Linked DNA regions of Homo sapiens: regions 1 and 2 are each linked to region 3. The links are contacts of gene promoters, found by promoter capture Hi-C in blood cells and fetal thymus (Javierre and others, 2016). All regions are on one chromosome and are shown on one strand. The core of a region is centred on a gene start or on the middle of the fragment in contact, and the rest is flanking DNA. Distances in the headings are between cores, read along the strand shown.

Evidence for each region. The method cuts DNA at HindIII sites, captures the fragments that hold promoters and counts their contacts. A CHiCAGO score of 5 or more calls a contact.
Region 1: a fragment that was not itself captured here is called in contact with the fragment with the promoter of PARD3 in region 3 in 1 of 17 cell types (megakaryocytes); the score reaches 5.4 in megakaryocytes.
Region 2: a fragment that was not itself captured here is called in contact with the fragment with the promoter of PARD3 in region 3 in 1 of 17 cell types (fetal thymus); the score reaches 5.6 in fetal thymus.

Annotation. Positions count from the first base shown.
Region 1 is chr10:35,025,118-35,028,992 of GRCh38, reverse strand. It overlaps CUL2 (cullin 2), which reads left to right. Exons shown (of 21, transcript NM_003591.4): 16 at 106-183; 17 at 3,795-3,861. Among named protein-coding and RNA genes, the nearest start is that of MIR3611, 53 kb to the left of the region's middle. The HindIII fragment of the contact is 836 bases long and covers 2,208-3,043 here.
Region 2 is chr10:34,991,760-34,995,738 of GRCh38, reverse strand. LOC124902409 (a long non-coding RNA gene) reads left to right here. Exons shown (of 2, transcript XR_007062110.1): 2 at 1,377-2,127. Among named protein-coding and RNA genes, the nearest start is that of LINC02635, 21 kb to the right of the region's middle. The HindIII fragment of the contact is 236 bases long and covers 1,521-1,756 here.
Region 3 is chr10:34,813,023-34,817,044 of GRCh38, reverse strand. PARD3 (par-3 family cell polarity regulator) reads left to right here and starts at 1,749. Exons shown (of 25, transcript NM_001184785.2): 1 at 1,749-2,169. The coding sequence starts at 2,050. PARD3-DT (PARD3 divergent transcript) reads right to left here and starts at 1,277. Exons shown (of 2, transcript NR_108043.1): 1 at 1,244-1,277; 2 at 623-925. RefSeq lists silencers at 1,401-1,450, 1,541-1,710, 2,231-2,510. The HindIII fragment of the contact is 5,100 bases long and covers 1-3,375 here.

The DNA of each region.
Region 1 (3,875 bases), core at 1,376-3,875, 210 kb before region 3:
AGGAAGAAAAAAATGTTTTAGATGCTTAGATTATTTAATAAATATTTACTTTGAATTTAGATGTTGATCCATTTAGCTTATTTTATTTTATTTTTTTCCTTCTAGGCTGGTGCGTGGCCTCTTACTCAGGCTCCTTCATCTACGTTTGCAATTCCCCAGGAATTAGAAAAAAGTGTACAGATGGTAAGTTTGCAGGAAATATATTAGAAGACTAAAGGAATTTTAATAATTGTCTTCATATTATATCACCTTTAATATTTTTTCAGAGTCTTAAGGGTTCATGTGATAAAAATAGATTCAGAAATTATAGTCAGTCTGCCCTTTAGGAAGAATGTAAGTTATTGTAGTTACTAATATTGATACTAAAATGCTAAGAAGAATGTCATACAGTTCTTTGTCAAAGCATGTCTCTTATTCTGAGTAAGTCTATCATCTGCTATTAAGCAGTTTTAAATTATAAAAATGTTGATATCAGAAGAAAGCTTAGAATTCAACACCTAAAATATCACTTACCAGTTTTCCTTTTGAATTTTGACCAAATACCTCATTCAGCCCTTGTAATATTTTTATTTCTGTCCTGTAATGTAGGTAAATATATGTGAAGTAACTGCTAGTAGAGTAAGTAGTAACAGTGATTGATAGTGGTTATTAGTTTCGTGGTAATAACTAATAGAGGAGAGTCCTGTAACCAGTCAGGTAGGTTTCAGGAAGGCAAGCATGATAGACTTTCAGAATAGGAGGCTAAATTAGGACTTCTTACATCTTCTTTGAAAAGAGATTGTAGCACAGACTATTTTAGAAACTATGTGAAGAAGAGCATTTGTGCAGACATTCATTGGATGGGGCAGACTATAATCCAAGGTTATTACAAATTTTGCAGAAAGGATACATCCCAAAGTGCTGGGATTTCAGGCATGAGCCACCATGCCTGGCCTTGGCAGTCTTTTACATTTCTTTTTAAATATCATGTGTCCCTGATTGAAATTAAGGGAGAGAATAGGAGCTGGCAGAAATGAAGTTTTCCTTTAGTTTTTTCTTTCCTCTTTCCTTGAAATAATTATTTTCTATTTATAGTTTTTAACTCTTTAAACTTTATTTGTTGATGTATAGTCTTCCTCAGGTTTTAGTTTCCCCATTTACAAATAGGAAGTGAGTTTCTGTCTGTAAAATTCTGATTCCAAAAATACTATTCTCTCCATTTGAATTGTCTCCAATTACCAGTAGAGGGAGTTTGTCCTTTATTTTTTTTCTAGTAAGTCCAAGTTTTCAGATACATAGGATTGAAATCCATTTGTATACTTAATAGTGTACAGTTTTCTCATGTAAATTAATCCATCCTGCCTTAGTGATGATTTGCATTTTTTACATCTTAATCTTAAATATAACTATCAAGAATTACCTTTATTTTACACCAAAGTATCTCAAAACTGTGGAATTAAAGCTGTAATTAAAAGTAATTTATTTTATACTTTAGGCCAGTCAATCTTAATTGTTACATTTCTTTTTTACCTAGGCCAAAAACCTGAATAATATTAGAAGTATCTAAAGTTGCCGGGCGCGGTGGCTCACGCCTGTAATCCCAGCACCTTGGGAGGCCGAGGCGGGCGGATCATGAGGTCAGGAGATTGAGACCATCCTGGCTAACACAGTGAAACCCCGTCTCTACTAAAAATAGAAAAAATTAGCCGGGCATGGTGGCATGCACCTGTAGTCCCAGCTACTCTGGAGGCTGAGGCAAGAGAATCGGTTGAACCCAGGAGGTGGAGGTTGCAGTGAGCCGAGTTTGCGCCACTGCACTTTAGCCTGGGTGATAGAGCGAGACTCCGCCTCAAAAAAAAAAAAAAAAAAAGTATCTAAAGTAGTGTATATTAATGTAGCTATCTATTAAAGGTAAATAAACTCATTGAATTTTTAAGGCTCTTTGAGATCTAATTAATGCCCTTAAACAGTGTTTGAAAAATGCTGTTTTTTATCCTGTTTATTTTAAAATAAGTTTAGTCTGGGAGGAGGGGGGAGGGATAGCATTAGGAGATATACCTAATGCTAAATGACGAGTTAGTGGGTGCAGCACACCAGCATGGCACATGTATGCATATGTAACTAACCTGCACATTGTGCACATGTACCCTAAAACTTAAAGTATAATAATAATAAAATTTAAAAAAATAAAATAAGTTTAGTCAACATATATTTTTTACTAATAAGCTTTGCTAACACAATTATTTTAATGATATAATCAAGGAAGGTTTTATAACTTTGGTCTTTGTAGTGCCATATGAATTGATGAATTTATTGGAGTCTGTTTGTTCTTGACTAGCTATAGATACGAGAGTCTTTGTAGTCAGATTTTAAATGTAAGGATGAATCAGTATCTTCTTTTGGCATATTGATATTATCGTCAATAAAACTTTACCAAATAGTACTACTGAAGAGGTAAAACATGTTTTTAGAGCTTGGAATATACCTTTTAAAGCCAGCTTTGCACTTTAAATTATGAGCATTTTAAAGCTGGAATTTCTCATTTCCGAAAGTGTTTTGAGAAAAAAATGAAAGTTTTTTTAACTTTTATTTTGCTTTTGTCCAGATTCATTGTAAATGTGTTATAAATTGTGAATTATATAGTAGTGATTGAATTTTATTGATATCCCTGGGAGTTATTAGTTAGTCAGATCATACTTCTGAAATCCTCTTATGACATATTTCAATTTGCTGTTTGTCTGGATTAGAACTAAGCAGGCAATCTGAAGTATTCCAGGTGCTAGTCATCTCCTGTTCATCCTGCAAAGGGATTGGTGGATCTGCTGGTAGAGGAGGATGCTGCACCATTAGAGGGAAAATAGGCTCAACATATTTCAGCTTCCCAGGACTAGGCAAACTTAGAGTAACTGCTGAAGGAATTGACTCATTTTCTTGGCTGGAGCTATTAACTTTTGCTGTTAAGGAGTGGTCATAATATAGCTGATAGGTCAGTCATTGCTGACTGCTTTATGTGAACTTCCTTTTTAAAGTACAAAAGGTAAAGTTTGATATACAAATAAAAGCTTTAAGTATGTTATATATGGTACATCATGCTAAAAGTTTATTCAGAATTCTGAACTGGCATAATGCAGTTTATTTTTTAGTTTTATAAAGAAATTGAGTTTTTATCTTTTTCACATCCAGTATCATTTTTCCACTTTTTATTGTATACTAGCTCTTTATTAAAGAAAAAAGAACTCTGTATTTTTGTTCTGTAATTACACATTCAGTCCAGGGAGGAATGTTTAAAATTTGAAGGCTACATTAATAGAATTTAAATTTAATTGTTCACAATAATATCAGCAAAAGAATAATCCAGAGATATACCCTAAAACTTCGTATTTGTGTCTAATTGAATGTGGAAGCTATATGTTGGCAAATGGGAGATTAGAGATGAAGGTAGGGTTTCTCTTTTCATGGTGAAATATATATGTTGCTGTGTTTGGTTAGTAGAATTTATAAAGTCCATGTTAGTATTATTCAGAAATGATAATGAATCACTGTGTCATACAGAAAGTCAAATTTGCAGTGCTGTGGTTTAGTGGAGAGAACTCTAGAACAAGTTGTCAATTAAAAGAGCTGGAATATATGTGTATAGCCTTGATTAGGGACCACAGGAACGTGCTTTCTCCTCTGTAAAAGAAGGAGGTAAACCAGATGGGCTTTAATGTCTCTTCTAATATGAATGGTTTTCATTGCTTTTGTAGTATTGTGTTAATTAACTAGGCAAGTTATAGTAGCTAAAAATAATGTGTGTTTTTTTTTTTTTTTTACAGTTTGAATTATTTTATAGCCAACATTTCAGTGGAAGGAAACTTACATGGTTACATTATCTGTGTACAGGTAAAATGCATTTA
Region 2 (3,979 bases), core at 389-2,888, 180 kb before region 3:
TTGTGATAGTTTCTAACTCATTTTCTGCAGCAGTGCATACACTTCTGCTCCCTGAAGTCCTGCTGGAAGGACCACTTGTTAGAACCAGACAAATTGTTCACATGCTTACTGCTTAAGAGGCTCATGACTTGTCCCTAATGACTAGAAGCAAAGGAAGAAGCTGTTTTAAGGGGAGAGTCTGCTTTTGAATCCAGCCCCCACTTATGTTTTGGCTTAAATGAAATAGCTTCTTTCTTAATGCACATCAGAAATACCCAGGAAACCACCTCAGTTCTCTGGGTTAGAGTATAAATGTTCTAGGTGTTTCCTCTCTGAGCCAAATAAAAGGAATCCCCAGAATTCCTAGAGGAATTTGATATGTAAGAGTTAACACATGCTACCCTGCTTTTTCCAGATGAAAGAGGACGGAGGGCATCTTCCTCCCTGACACCAGGCTGGAATCGCTTGGGCGATTAGCAAGCAGGTTGCCAGCATCTATGCCACTGTGAATCAAAGGGTCTGGAAAAATCTGGACCAAGACACTTTCCGAGCACCACCCTTACCTCAGTGTCCAAGATTTCTCTATTCAAGATTCGCATGGGCTTAAGGTGTCAGAGTTCCTGGTCATTGTGCAAACTGGTTTTCTGGAAGGGCTCTCGTTTCTGAATGCCTCTGCTTTTTCCCCCAGAAGATGCAAGTCACCTTTCTGTCACCCTCAAGGGGCCAGGTCCCAAGTCCTGAGCTCCAGTTGGGAGGAGATAGTTTGAGGAGCTCTGAAAGAGGAAGGGTCAGCCTGGGAGACTGGGCAGAGGCCCTTAGTGTGGGGAAAAGGCGGGAGCGCTGGGAGGCAGCAGCATTTGGAATACAGACAGATTCCCCCGCCTGTGGCAATCTCTGTCTCCCTCTGGTGGTTTAAGCTCTCAAAATTACAGGTGTTCTTTGTAAGTGACTCATACATTCCAGTACCGGGGTGAGTTTTTACTCTTTTGGCTCATGTCATTTCCTCCCAGCAGCTAGGGTCTCTGCATTTTGTCCTGTTGTCATGGCAACTGGTACTCTGCAAGCTTTGGGAGCTGAAGCTGTAGAGCTGGCTCGTTAGGGAGGCTGCCCTCTCTCTCCAGCTCAATGGGGAACTGTAGACATTTGGAAGATGAATCATTCTAGTCCATTGAATAGCTTGCCAAGGTGACCCCGAGCAAGCTCCTTCCATCTCTTAACGAACAAAAACTATAGTGTTGTGAAGATTGTATGAGATAACTTATCTGAAGTTCCTAGCGCCATGCCTGACATACTATTTTAAGTGTTTGATAAATAATATTTGCCTTCCCATTGATTCAGACTCTACAGGCAGCAATAAAAAATTACTGCTCTAAATATTTCTCATTTTCTCTCTGCAGCCTTTCATGGAAGTTGCCATGGTTCTGCATCCCTAAACCAATGAGACACAATGGCAAGTTTCTCTTCCTACATCTATTTCAACCACCAGCTTAACTCCCCTTCCTGAGTGCAGCTAAAGCTGTGGCCATCAGGCAGGTGAAGCTTGGTGCCTCCTGTTCAACCAACAGGAATGACTGAAGCAGGCTGGGGGTGGGACCAGCAGTAAGAAGCCCAGAGCAATGACCAGAGCTCCCTTTCTCTGGAGAGCTGGGCTGGAGAAAATCTATGCACTGCTGATCTCCTAAGGAGAGAGCTTCAAGGGTGAAAAGATGGTGTCCCACAGGCCTGAGGCTGCACAGATCTAGCTTTTGCCATTGAGGACAGCAGGGACAGTAAAGCTTCCCAGATCCCCTTTCAACCTGCCAGCTGGCATGTCACCTACCATAGAGGAAGCCAATCCTAGACCTTGTACTACTTGAGAGATTGCAAAAGTATCCTGTTAGCTGGGTCTGGACCCCAATGATAAATAGACTCATGAGTGAGCTAAGGAAGGGAACTGGCCCATCTAAAAGGAACCGGCCCAAGGAAAAGCAGGAATCTATGAAGGCATTCAATAACTTGGACCAAAAAGGAACAAGAAGGTAAAATTGAATACTTGGGTGATGGTTACACTAAAAACCTAGATTTCCCCACTACAAGATATATCCATGTAACAAAACTGCACTTGTACCCCTTAAATTTATATACTTAAATAAAATAAAATAGAAGAGATTCTTTTTTTTTTTTTTTTTTTTTGAGATGGAATCTCACTCTGTTGCCCAGGCCTGGAGTGCAGTGGTGCGATCTTGGCTCACTGCAACCTCCTCCTCCCGGGTTCAAGCAATTCTCCCACCTCAGCCTCCCTAGTAGCCGAGACTACAGGCACTTGCCATCACGCCCAGCTAATTTTTGTATTTTTAGTAGAGATGATTTCACCATGTTGGCCAGGCTGGTCTCGAACTCCTGACCTCAAGTGATCCACCTCCCTCAGCCTCCCAAAGTGCTGGGATTACAGTTGTGAGCCACTGTGCCCAGCCAAAATAGAAGAGATTCTATTACAGCATAAAATACTTTGTGGAAATAAGAAACAAGGCCCGGCTCGGTAGGTCATGCCTGTAATCCCAGCACTTTGGGAGGCCCAGGTGGGCAGATCATGAGGTGAGGAGATCGAGACCATCCTGGCCAACATGGTGAAACCCCATTTCTACTAAAAGTACAAAAAATTAGCCGGGCGTGGTGGCACGTGCCTGTAGTCCCAGCTACTCAGGAGGCTGAGGCGGGAGAATCACTTGAACCCAGGAGGCGGAGGTTGCAGTGAGCCGAGATCGTGCCACTGCACTCCAGCCTGGGCGACAGAGCGAGACTGTCTCAAAAAAAAGAAAAAGAAAAAGAAATAAGAAACACGAGTTTTTCATTTTAAATTTCAGTTGATGACTGAAGAAGAGGATAGTTGCAGGCTAAATTAGTGGCCCAGGAGATTCAGTGAGAGAAAAATCTCAAAACATAAAACAAAATTACAAGCAGATGGAAATATTGAAGAAACTGACAAAGTATTTGAAGTCTGGATTCAGACAATCTTACATGTAAACAATAAAATGCCTAGAAAGGTTTTTTAAAAAGAAAAGTAGAAGAGAAGCTGTAATTAAACCAAACCAATAATAATAATAATAAATCATACGTACTAAAAAGAAATTGAGTATTCGAAGTGAAAGAATTCACCAAATTCCAATCTGGATTAATAAAACACTTAAGGAATATCCTGGTGAGCTGGGCGCGGTGGCTCATGCCTGTAATCCCAGCACTTTGGCCAGGCTAGTCTTGAACTCCTGACCTAAAGTGATCTGCCTGCCTCAGCCTCCCTCAGTGCTGGGATTACAGGCGTGAGCTACTGCGCTCAGCCTATATAACTGTTAAGGTAAAAGAAATATATTCAAAATTACACAAGATTTAGAAAATAAATCCTATACCTACTTCTGTTTGATGAAAATATTCCAGAAGAACTCTAATCAAATGATAAGTAATCAGAAAGAAGACCACAAGATTGCCGTGATGAGTAATGAGTGTGTGTGTGTGTGTGTGTGTGTGTGTGTGTGTGTGTGTGTGTTGCAATACTGGGTAAGGGAGCAGAAGGATAGTTACAGCATTCTTAAGATATTATCTTACAGGCCAAGTAATGGAGTGTCTTGGTGAACAGAAATATTTCATACTGTGCTTTTTTCTTTTCACAGGTAATGGTAGAGAAATATTTGTTTATGTGTATCCAGTATAGAATGGAATCATTACTGATATGGAAAATTACATAAGAACTTTGCATTTTTCAGGTCTGTTAAGGAATGACAGAATGACACACCCATTCCTTGCTCCATCCCCACTTCCAATTTCCACATCCATACACTGGAAATTCTTGATTTCTTTAGCCAAGGACACAGCTTAATAAATTAAAGATATCATGCAGGACTAAAAAATATGTGTTTTTTGGTGCTGATAGAATCTTGCCTGATTTGAGAGGTTTAATTCTAGGGTGTTTAACAGACCTTTATTTTTTAGAACTTGCATTCTGTTCAGGAAAAATTTATATAAATGA
Region 3 (4,022 bases), core at 500-2,999:
AATGCATGAAAACAGAAACAACACCTATAATTATCAGTAATTGTTGTTGTGGATCCAAGTATCTATGTAAGAAGCAAAAAACCCACATCAACAGTTGTTGTCATCGTTGTCACAAACTTAATTACTGGCTAGAAATGTCTAGTGCTGCAGCCAAACAGCAGTAGGAGGAGCCTTTCCCATGGCTGAGTGGAAGGAGGGAAACCTAGACTATTTCTGGGTCTGCCTTGAGCTTTCTCTGCCGCCTTGGGCAAGTGACTTTGGCCCTGGGTCAATGTCCTGGAGTAAGATGGGGCTAACACCACTGCACTGATTTGCTGGGACAGGTGGTGGAAAGTGGTGGTCCAGGGCTGGGAGAGGAGAGGAAGGGCAATGTTTCCTAGGAGAAACTGCACTATGCTGGGGCAGCTGCGGTGCTGCAAAGCGCAGGGAGTGTGGCAAGCGGACGAACCTCGTGTCTTGTTTCCTTGTTTTAAGATTGGAGGTGGAGTGGGATGGATGGTCGATCGCCAGCTCTTCCAGCTCTTAAGTGCTCAAGTTCTGCGCCAACCCAGGGGAGCTTGATTGCTTTCACGTGTCTTGGAAACAACTGGCAAAAAAGAATTTCACATAGTCTGGAAAGGGCTTGGGACAGGGACCACTCTTTGCAGACATTTGTCATTCTTTAAACATAATGACATACATTTATTAAGGACTCATAGTCCATAACTAAGACAAAATGAGCTTCAGTTACGTTCCCTAACTCGGTCCACGTTCCTTTAGAACGTCTCAAGCCCGCATGTCACTCATCGCGGAGTCGCAGCCTTCCCCTGGGTTCGGGCGTCTGCGTTAAGCGCCGGCACATCGTGGGGATCCCCGCGTGAGATTTCTCTGCGCCGTCGGAATAGACTGTTCACGGATTCGCGTTAGGATTCCTTATGCTGCAGAACTTCAAAGAAATAAATGTATCAGAATTGCGATGTTTAAGTTCTAATCTATTTAAGCGGGTGGGTCAGCAGAGGGTCAACAGGAAACTTCAAGGTAAATAGTGGCCTCTGGAAAAGGCCCGGTCGCTCACGGCTTCCCCACTGTCTCCCCAGAGCAGACTATTAATTCTTGCGTTTCAGGCAGAACTGCCGCTGCCGGCCCTGCAGCAGAGCTAGGGAGCGGGCAGGGCAGAAACCCAGCCGAGCAAGCTGCAGGCTCGAGTCCCCGCGGGCGGAGAGGCTCGGGCTGGAGCCTCCGGGGCGGTGAGGAGGGGACTCACCGCACTGAGCACAAACTGCTTTCCCCGGGAGCGCCTGCACCCAAAACCCTCCAGTTCGAGGAATGGGATTAAAAGTGACAAAGAAAGGGGAAGGGGGGCTCCGTGGAGACTTCTGGAGGCGTGGAAGGGGCGTCCCCGAGGAGGGGCGACGCAGCCCTGCAGGGTGCTGGGCGGGCGGGGTGAAGGGGGCTGGGGGGCGCCTGGGCCAGGGCTGGTGGGGGCAGACGGCCGCCTGCCCGTGCTGGCACTGGGGCGAGGGGTCCCGCGCCCCCGGAGGGAGGGAGGGAGGGAGGGAAGGAGGGAAGGAGGTCGGCCCCCGAGGGCGGTGGCGGGGGCGCGAGCTGCGGTCCTGCGCTCCGCCCCGCGCGGGTAGCCGGCCGCGCCTCCCCCTGCCGCATGTGCGCGGTGTTGTGTGCCCTGCCCTGCTCCTCCCCCTCCCCTCCCCTCCCCTCCCCTCCCCTCCCGCCGTCCCCTCCCCCAGCGGCCCCGAGCGAGCGCCAGCGCCACACAGCCCCGGGCAGCCGCCGGCGAGCGCGCCGCGACGCCGAACAGGTGGCCGGAGGCTGCGGGCGCCGCGGCGGGGAGAGGCGAGGCAAGCCCCGGGCGAAGCGAGGCGAGGCGAGGGCGGCCGGGCCGGGCATGCGAGCTGAGCGGCCCCCCGGCGTCGCCGCCGCCTGCCCGCGCCCCTAGCCGCCCGCGCGCCCGAGTCCCCAGCGGCTCCTCCGCGCCCAGCGTCCTCGGTCCCGGCCTCGGCTGCTCCGGCTGCGCTCGGCGAGGGGCGCGGGCCCGCCCGCGGCGGCGGCGGCATGAAAGTGACCGTGTGCTTCGGACGGACCCGGGTGGTCGTGCCGTGCGGGGACGGCCACATGAAAGTTTTCAGCCTCATCCAGCAGGCGGTGACCCGCTACCGGAAGGCCATCGCCAAGGTGAGGGGCCGGGGGCGCGGGCGGGGAGGGGGCGGCGGCGGGGACGGCGCCGGGATCAATATGGCGCTTCCTGGAAGGGGGAGGAGAGGCGCAGGGAGGCGGGGAAAGGGAAAGTGCGGCCGGTCGGGCCTCGCGGGCGCCCCCCGCCCCGGACTGCGGGCGCCAAAGTTCTCTGCGCGGGCCGGGGCGCAGCCTCTGGGACACCCAGCCGGGTCCCGCGGCCCCCGCCCTCACCCTCCGCCCGGGAGCTCCGGCCTCGGTAGCGCGGGGCGAGCCGGGCAGCGGCGCATAGGCCGGCCCTGGGCGCCTCCCCGGAGTCTGCAGACCCAGCCAAGCCCCGAGCCAGCGCGCGGGGGGCGCAGGCCGGGAAATCCAGCCCCAGGCCTTTCCCGGCTCCCAGGCCCCGGGGGCACAGGCCGGGGACTGGGAACTTTTGGTGTGAGGAGAGTTTCGTGACTGCCCTTCCGACAGAGGCGGGTTGCGAGCCTTCTGCCTCCTCTCCCTTACTCGGGCGGGGGCGGAACAGCGGCGGGGGGCTTTTCCTCCATGTCCCCTGCTGGTAGGGGCCGGCAGGGGCGGCCCGTCGCGTCCGGGGGCTGCAGGGTTTGGGGAGTCGCCGGCTTGGGGTCGGGGAGGCGTTCCCGGGAGGGCCACCGCTGGCACTTGGCACTCGCTTGCGAGCATTTACTGAGCTGATCCCACTTGCTGGGCTCTGGAAAGCACAACCTTGGAAGAGTCGCGGAATGAAAAGTTTTCCTGCGAGGACCTCAGCTCCTACCTATCCCGGGCTGGTTCCATGTGGCTGGGCTGCGGGGCCGGGCCTGACTTGGGAGTTGAGTGGATTTCCCTTTTTCCTGGTGGACTGATAACATTGTCTCCACTTCACAGCATTCCTCTACTGTGTGTCAGAAGTGAAAAGGCGTTTTGTTAAATTGTTTTACCGACTGTGTCTGTGTTTGACAACAGCCCACGCTGAAGTTTCTCCCAAGCACCCGGGGATATATTTCCTTTGTAGTAGAGTCCTCTTTGGTGGGGAGCGCATTCGTTTGGGTGCAGTATTTCCCATTTGTTCCCGACAGTGGCCTGGCCCCTGTGGGCTTGGGGGCTGCAAATGACGTTGGAAAGTGGCTTGGTCAGCCCTATTGAGCGTACACAGGGTACTCCGGTGGCATCTTCAGTTCTCTCAGAAATTAAGAAGTAAAAGCTTTTTAGACTTTTGTTTTGCTTTTAGTATATATTGGAAAAAATAGCATAAATTTGGCCTTTTAAAGATAATTTTGGGGGACGTTTGGAGACCCGACACAAGGATGGAAGACGTTGGCTTTAGTAGCTCTGTTATGTTCCTTACAGTTGAACTCTTTTATTGAAAATCAAATAAAATTAGTGGGAATTGGGCACCTGTTTATCTTGCAAAGCTGACAAAGGGAAAGAAAACCATCTAAATGGACATTTAGCATTTTTAAGTGTTGTTTATGTGTGACAGTTTATGCTTTAAATGTTCCAAAAGAGTACTCAAATTGTTCAGGCACTCTGGAAACCAACAAAACAAATTGTGCAAGGAAAGAGAAATAAAGTAATATGCACTCTGCAGTACGTCTAGGCTCCTGAATAGGAAGAGGGTGGTCAACATTTTCTTTCACTTTACTAATTTTATGTGATTAAAATTGTTTTACCTACTGTGTCCCATGTTTCATCCTGCACAAAATAGACATAGGCTGAACTGCCTGTTTGGCAGTAGTTCAAATGTAGTTGTTCCAGGCATTCGTTCCACAGAAATTCTGAAGCTTTGACTGTGTCCATGGCACTGTTCTGGGTGCTGGACATCTAAGGGACCCACTGGCTGTGAGAAGCTG